Regions from separate parts of the Homo sapiens genome. Here region 1 is linked to region 2. The links are contacts of gene promoters, found by promoter capture Hi-C in blood cells and fetal thymus (Javierre and others, 2016). All regions are on one chromosome and are shown on one strand. Each heading gives the region's core, a stretch centred on a gene start or on the middle of the fragment in contact. The rest is flanking DNA. Distances are from core to core; before and after follow the strand shown.

Region 1 (3,798 bases), core at 1,120-3,619, 1.7 Mb before region 2:
AGGTTGCATGGAATGAGCATTCTGGGTGCTGGGATAAGGTTGATATATCTTGCAAGTTGGAGGTGGGTGGATCAGGAGGCTGGCTTGTTACCATAATAGACCTCTGTGTTTGGGTCTGCCCTTCTGAAGGCACACCCTTAGGTGTGACTTTCACTTGACATGTGACTTGCTTTGGACAATGGGACTACAGCAAGTGATATACAAACAGAGTCTCAAAAATACTTGCATATTGGAGTTTGCCCTCTCTTGATGCTTTTTGGAGTCCTAAGCCCACTATGTGGAGGATTATGAGTTAGCTTATGGGAAGGTGAGGAACCACATTGCCAGAGACCACACCAGCCCAGACATATCAGCCACTTACAAAAGCAAGAACTAAATAAAACAATTGTTACTTGAAGCCACTACGTTTTGCGGTTGGTTATACAGCCAAAGCTAATTGATTCAGTGCTCATGTTACTCCCATTTTTCAGCTGGGAAAACTGAGGGTTACACACTTCAGTAAATTATCAAAGATATCAAAATGGATAGGAGAGAATCTATTACTTGATCCAAGGTACTCAGATTTCAGAGATCAACTCTTTCATCACTGTTCCTCAAGAAGCTTTTGCCTTTCTCTCCTACCCCACGGACCACACAAACAACTGAACTGCACATTCTCTTCCTCCTCTTCCTGAACTGGCATATTCTTATAAAAGCAATATACAAAATCAATTACATCTTTACATGGCAAATTTCAGCAAGAAAACATGACAGAAAAGTATTCCATTTACAATTCTTTACAAAAAATAAGATCTTTAAGAATAAATATAGAGGGATATCAGAAAAAATTGAGAGTAGGCAGCTCTACCCCTCCCATTCTTCCCACAGGAGCACTGAAAAACAAACAGGAACTGTCAGAACCAGCTTCATTAGAAACGTGGAAAACAGTCAAAGGTTTACAGCAACAAAGCAAGCACTGAATCACGAACAAGGCAACTTAAAAATGGCAGGAAAGCTTTGAGGCAGTCTTGATTGTCCTTGCTTCACCCTCCCCTGCTCAGCAGCAGTCTCCATTCCCATGCTGGGAACTTGGTCCCGGGTTCAGAAGGGAGCAGACAGCATTCATAAATTATTGTGCATGTCTGTTTGAAACTGTCTGGAGCTACTTGAAAGACCAACAGAAGATGCAGGCCTCTGTTTTGCCTAACTCAGAAGCCATTCGGGATGGAAGAGCAGTAGATGATGCTCGAAAACACCGTAAGGCTGACAACAACCTGCAGCCAACTACCCAGGCCAAAAGACAACTGTTGAGACATGCAGAGGCCTACTAGAGTGAGGGAGAAAGAGCCCAGAAAGAGCTTCCTTGGGATATTCGGGCATTCTAAAGCACCCATGTATTTGGAGGAATCTAGAACACCATGCACTTGCCCAAGGTAAGATGCATGATCAGAAAAAAACTGAGAAGACCTTAAGCTTTCATCCCAGGTGGATTCTGAGGCTCCTGGGAAATCCAGTTAAGGGGTGAAGGAAGGTCCAAGCACAGAACAATTCTGCAGAGACTACAAGAGGTTCTCCTATCTTCTCCTCCCTCCTTCTTTGTCTTCTTTCTCTGTCTTCCTCTCTTTCCCTTGATATTCAAGGAAACCTTTGGAAAAAGCTAACTGAACAATATCTAAGGAACAGACTTCAGTGACACCAATGGCAAGGAGTACAGTCTGAAAAATAGTTAAGAAAAGTCACAAAACAGACAAACAATCACAGCCCGCAACAACAACAACAACAACAAAAACAGGAGACCTCTGGAAGAAGGGCAGTCTGATTTCCAATTTTACCACACTATAATAAACAATATATGATTTTTGCAAAACTAAAGGGAAAATATTTTAAAACAAAATAAAGAAAAAATATTTTAAAACAACATACGAAAACTTACAGAAAAAACTATGCTAAAAGGGAAATTTATGGCTATAAATGCTTATATTATAAAACAGAAAAGGATCTCAAATCGATAATCTAACTTTACACCTAAAAGAATGAGTAAAAAGAGAGCACACTAAACCCAAGGTTAGCAGGAGGAAGGAAATAATACAGATTAGCACAGGATAAACAAAATAGAGAATAGAAAAGCAGACCAGGTGCAGTGGCTCACGTCTCTAATCCCAGCACTTTCGGAGGCTGAGGTGGGCGGATGGCTTGACTCAGGAGTTAAAGACTAGACTAGGCAACATGGCAAGACCCCTTCTCTACACAAAATACAAAATTTATCTGGGCATGGTGGTGCACACCTGTAGTCCCAGCTACTTGGGAGGCTGAGGCAGGAGGATCGCTTGAGCCCAGGAGGTGGAGGTTGCAGTGAGCTGAGATCATGCCATGCACTCCAGCCTGTGTGACAGAGTGAGATCTTGTCTCAAAAAAGAAAAGAAAAGAAAAAAAGGGAGAGAGAATCAACAAAGCCAAATTTGGTGCTTTGTAAAGATCAACAAAACTGACAAATCTTTAGCTGGAGTGGCGAAGATAAAAAGAGAGAAGATACAAATTACTAAAATCAGGAATGAAAGTGGGAGCTCACAGAAATAGAAAGGATTGTAAAGGATTGCTATGAACAAATGTACTCCAACAAATTAGATAAACTACGTGAAATGGACAAATTCCTAGAAACACACAAACTACCTAAGCTGACTCACAAAGAAGAAAAATAACAAAACACCTATAACAAGTGAAGATATTGAATCAGTAATCCAAAACCTCCCAACAAATAAAAGTTCAGGACCAGATGGTTTCACTGGTGAATTATTTCAGACATATAACAAACAATTAGCACAAATCCTTCTCAAACTCTTCCATATAATAGAAGAGGGAGGAATACATCCTACCTCACTGTAAGAGGCCAGCATTACCTTGATACCAAAGCCAGATTGAGACATCACAAGAAAAGTATAGGTAAATATCTCTAATGAGACAGATAAAAAACATCCTCAGTGAAACAGTAGCAAAGTGAATACAACAGCATATTAAAAGGATTATACATCATGACCAAATGGGATTTATTCCTTGAATGTAAGGGTGATTCAACCTACAAAAATTAATGGACATAATACAACACATTAACAGAATGAAGAATGAAAAAAAAAAACTCATGGTCATCTCAATTGATGCAGATAAAGCATTTAACAAAATCCAATGATCTATTATAATGAAAAAAAAAACACATCAAAGTAGGAAGAGAAGGGAACTTCCTCATCATAAAGTCTTTTATGAAAAACCTACAGCTAACATTTTACTCAATGGTGAAATAATGAAAGCTTTCCCCCTAAAATAGGAACAAGACAAGGATTTCCAATTTCACCACTGCTATTCAACATTTATTGGAAGTTCTAGCCAGAACAACTAGGCAAAGAAAATAAAAGCATCCAAATTGGAAAGGAAGAAATAAAACTATCTCTATTCACGGTTAGTATGATCCTGTCTATAGAAAACCTCAAATAATTCATGAGAAGATACTAGGGCTAATAATTGAACTCAGAAAACTTGCTGGTTACAAGATTGACACACAAAAAAAGGCTGTTTTTCTATATAGTGGCAATGAATAATTTGAAAAGAAATTTAAGAGAGCAATTCTATTTCAATAGCATCTAAAATAATAAAATATCTAGGAATAAATTTGAGGTAAAAGACTTGTGCATTAAAAACTATAAAACATTGCTTAAAGAAATTAAAGAAAACACAAATAAATGAAAAGATATCTGATGTTCATGGCTTGGAAGACTTAATATTGTCAGGATGGCAGTACTTCCCAAAGAAATCTACAGAGTCAATACA
Region 2 (3,777 bases), core at 755-3,254:
ACATAACAGAGATGCATAAATGCTTTATTCCTTCCTTCTTTTACTTATTCAACAAATATTTACTGAACATCCATTGTGTGCCAGGCACTGTTCTGGGTGCTGGAGAATACATTGATGAACCAATTGGGGAAAATGTCCTGCTCTCATGCATGTAACATACTAATGTAGGATCCAGAGGCAATCGGCAAATAAGAAAATCTGTGGTGTGTTACAAGATGATAAATACTAAAGAAAAATAAGTCAAAGAAAAGTGGGATGCAGGAGTTACCACTTTAAATAAACAGTTATCAAACAAATAAAACCTTCTGATGAGGATGTTTGCCTTAGCAGCAAAAGTAATTGTGAAAATTTTTTAAAACTCAAGTATCCATTAAGGAGGAGTAGGCAGTCTGGCTACCTCGGTCACTGAACTGTTTTGAGGTAGATATGCATAAAGCAGAAAGAGCAGTGCCTGGGAACCAACTTCCACCCATAACACTCTTTCATGGGAAAATAGGCTAATTCCCTAAAACAAACTTACATGTCAATGAAATACACTGTTTATAAATGTAAAACTACCTACACAGACACGAACACACTAACAATCAATGAAGACTGTCTCACTCCTTTATTCCTGAACTTAAAACTTTTTTTTTTTTTTTTTTTTTTTTTTTTTTTTTTTTTTGAGACGGAGTCTCGCTCTGTCGCCCAGGCTGGAGTGCAGTGGCGCGATCTCGGCTCACTGCAAGCTCCGCCTCCCGGGTTCACGCCATTCTCCTGCCTCAGCCTCCCGCGTAGCTGGGACTACAGACGTCCGCCACCACACCCGGCTAATTTTTTTGTGTTTTTTTAGTAGAGACGGGGTTTCACTGTGTTAGCCAGGATGGTCTCGATCTCCTGACCTCGTGATCCGCCCGCCTCGGCCTCCCAAAGTGCTGGGATTACAGGCGTGAGCCACCGCGCCCGGCCAACTTAAAACTTTTGTACAAACTTTCAACTGAAATTATTTTGATCCTAAAGATCACATAAAAAAGAAAACATCTCCTTTAACTTGTATTTTATTTCAAGACAGAGAGATAGAATATTCTGGCTCGGAGGATTCAGCAAAATGTAATTCAATGTCAATTACTGAATCTCTTCAAACCAAAGCATTTGTCAGCAGAAAATTCCCATAGGTTAACTGTAGACCTTAAAATCAGAAACGATGCAGGTAAATTACTGCACATCTACTTCTCCTGAAAATGACATTTATAGGTATTAATGTTTATATAGTGGCATCAGGAATAAAGTTAGTCATAATAACAAGCAATTGATTTCTATTTCACAAAAACGTACACTTACAGGATATTTGCATAAGTATTCACACAAGTTTCATTTGAACAATTCCAATCTCCTTAGGAAAACCTTGCTAATGTAATTTGAATACAGTTCTAAATAGATGTGAATTAACACTAAAGATGGTGACCCTACAGAATAACAGAGTGGATGTGTCATACCCTGCTCTGGTGAGGCACACTGTGCAGTCTTGTGCTTCGGAGTCAGTACCTGTAGCATTCTGCTTATGCATTAAATGCAGCAAATGCTTTGTTCCTTAAACCTGAGAATTCACTGTTCAGTTTTTACAACGAATGCTTAGAACACAAATTATAGTTCAATTCCACCTGCTTTTTTGTTTGTTTGTTTTTAGAATTTTTCTAAATTTGCCCTTTTCTGATAAATTCTTCAGCCTTGATTTCATCCTGGTCATTAAAGTGTTCAGCTACTTTGGCCCTTGGGACGGGTTTTGATTTAAAATAATCCAACCTCCCCAAATTCCCTGCAGCATGAGTGTTTTTACCTGCCAGGAGGCAGAGGCAGGCAGGAAAGAATAGACCCTGATCTTGCTCCAGACCTCACTGGAACCCTATGGAAAACCAAGGCAAGCACTCACCGGGTTCCTGAGTCTGCAGAGCCAATTCTTCCACAGCAGGGCTTTGAACTGGCACCCGGCATGCCCCATGCCTGCTGCTCCCTGCTCTCAGTCAGGAAGCCAGCCTGTAAGGATGGTGCTTATATCTGCTGGGCTCAAGTGAAGGCATGTTGCCTATTAGTCAATTCTAACAAAAGTGAGTGATGCAAGAGAGATTACTGGTGACTGAATAAAACAGGCATCAGATGTCCCCTCTTGTTCGGCATCTGCTGAGAAATCTTTTCACTAGCTGTTCAGTGTTTCAGGAGGGTTGAATTACAGAAAGCTGCCTTCAGGGACTTTCTCGGGCATACACACATACACAGAGAGGGTGCCCTCCCTTTCCGAGAACCCACAGAACTGATCTGTGCGACAAGAAGTAATGCCCACATTTACCATTTACCTCCCTTTTTTTCTGGATATTAATTAGATGGAATTTTCCTTTTTTCTTCTGAAGCATTGGTTATTACACAAATTTGCCAAAATATTTCAATTTTGGTGGTCCCATGGCAGAGAGTTTGAAGGGAAGGAGATGGAAGCAGTGTTGGTGTCTGGGGGAGTTTGGGGAATGGGTGACTCAAGTTCCACTCTGCTACTGCACCTGCACTTCATACTTCTCCTTCACCCATTTCCTCCAAAGGGATCAGGATCTACGTTTCAAATGGTATCGGGTGCAGATGTGGCAGGACTCAGCAAGTGGCCTGTGGATTACCTCTGAGTCCTGTTTGATTCCTGAACACTTGCACTTTCTAAGTGGCATGATGGATTCAGCTTGCCAGCTGGTGGCTCCATCGTCTTGGAAGCCAGGCCCTCTTGAGTTCCTGTTGCCCCCAGTTGTGGTCAGAAGGATTTCAGGCAACCCAGTCTTGTGGTCTTCTATTTCATAAAGCAATTTTCACAAGCTGTGAATGCTTGATAAATGGCTTTTGCAATAGGAAACAGGGAACACAGGCTTCAGCAAAGAAACTGACTCAATTATTTTGTAAACTTATTTGTTTAGAGCATGCCTATTTTATTTTATTTTTTGTTACATGGCTGGCAGCACTAGAGTGAAGGCCATTACTTAGCAGGATGGCGCCCAGCAACCATAAGTGGATTTGCCTGATCCCCATATGATGTTCCCCCTTGACCTGTGACTTCTCAAAGGTCTTTGGGGTTGCCTAAGTATTGCTACTCTGGTTCTCTTTGCAGATAACATCTAGAACACCTTACAAGTAATTGTCATAATTTTTAAAAATCTAGTATAAGAAAAAGCCTCCAACCATAAGGTTTTTCTCATGTTATGTTCATAGCAGCCAGTTTTTATGCTGCTATGCCAGAATTATGTCAGAGACACAAAAATTATCTCATCCATTGCTTTCATGGAACAATGCTGTGTTAGGATTTTCAGATAAACAGAACCAATGGGTGATTCATTGATCGATTGATTGATTGATTATAAGGAATAGGCTCACACAGTCATGGAGGTGGGCAAGTCCTAAGATCTGCAAGGTGAATTAGCAAGTCAGAGACCCAAGGAAGCCAATGATATAGTTCCAGTCCGAGTCCAAAGACCTGAGAACAGGAGAGCCAATGGTGTAGTTGCCATCCAAAGACTGGGAAACTTGAGACCCAGGACAAGCTGGTATTTCCATAAAGTCTGAAGGCAGAAAACAAAAAAAAGCCAATGTCCCAGTATGAAGGCCATCAGACAGAAATAATTATCTAACTTAGGGGAAAGTCAGACTTTTTGTTCTGTTTAGGTCTTCAACTAATTGGATGAGACCCACTCACACTAGGGAGGGCCATCTGCTGAATTCAGTCTACCTACTTAAATATTAATGTCATTTATAAACACCCTTGCAGAAACT

The links. The method cuts DNA at HindIII sites, captures the fragments that hold promoters and counts their contacts. A CHiCAGO score of 5 or more calls a contact.
Region 1: a fragment that was not itself captured here is called in contact with the fragment with the promoter of ABCA13 in region 2 in 1 of 17 cell types (M1 macrophages); the score reaches 6.3 in M1 macrophages.

The regions. Positions count from the first base shown.
Region 1 is chr7:49,862,041-49,865,838 of GRCh38, reverse strand. All of the region lies in intron 3 of VWC2 (von Willebrand factor C domain containing 2), which reads right to left. It also overlaps a transcript of ZPBP not described here. Among named protein-coding and RNA genes, the nearest start is that of VWC2, 90 kb to the right of the region's middle. The HindIII fragment of the contact is 1,829 bases long and covers 1,455-3,283 here.
Region 2 is chr7:48,169,685-48,173,461 of GRCh38, reverse strand. ABCA13 (ATP binding cassette subfamily A member 13) reads right to left here and starts at 2,004. Exons shown (of 62, transcript NM_152701.5): 1 at 1,910-2,004. The coding sequence starts at 1,978. The HindIII fragment of the contact is 8,502 bases long and covers 1-3,777 here.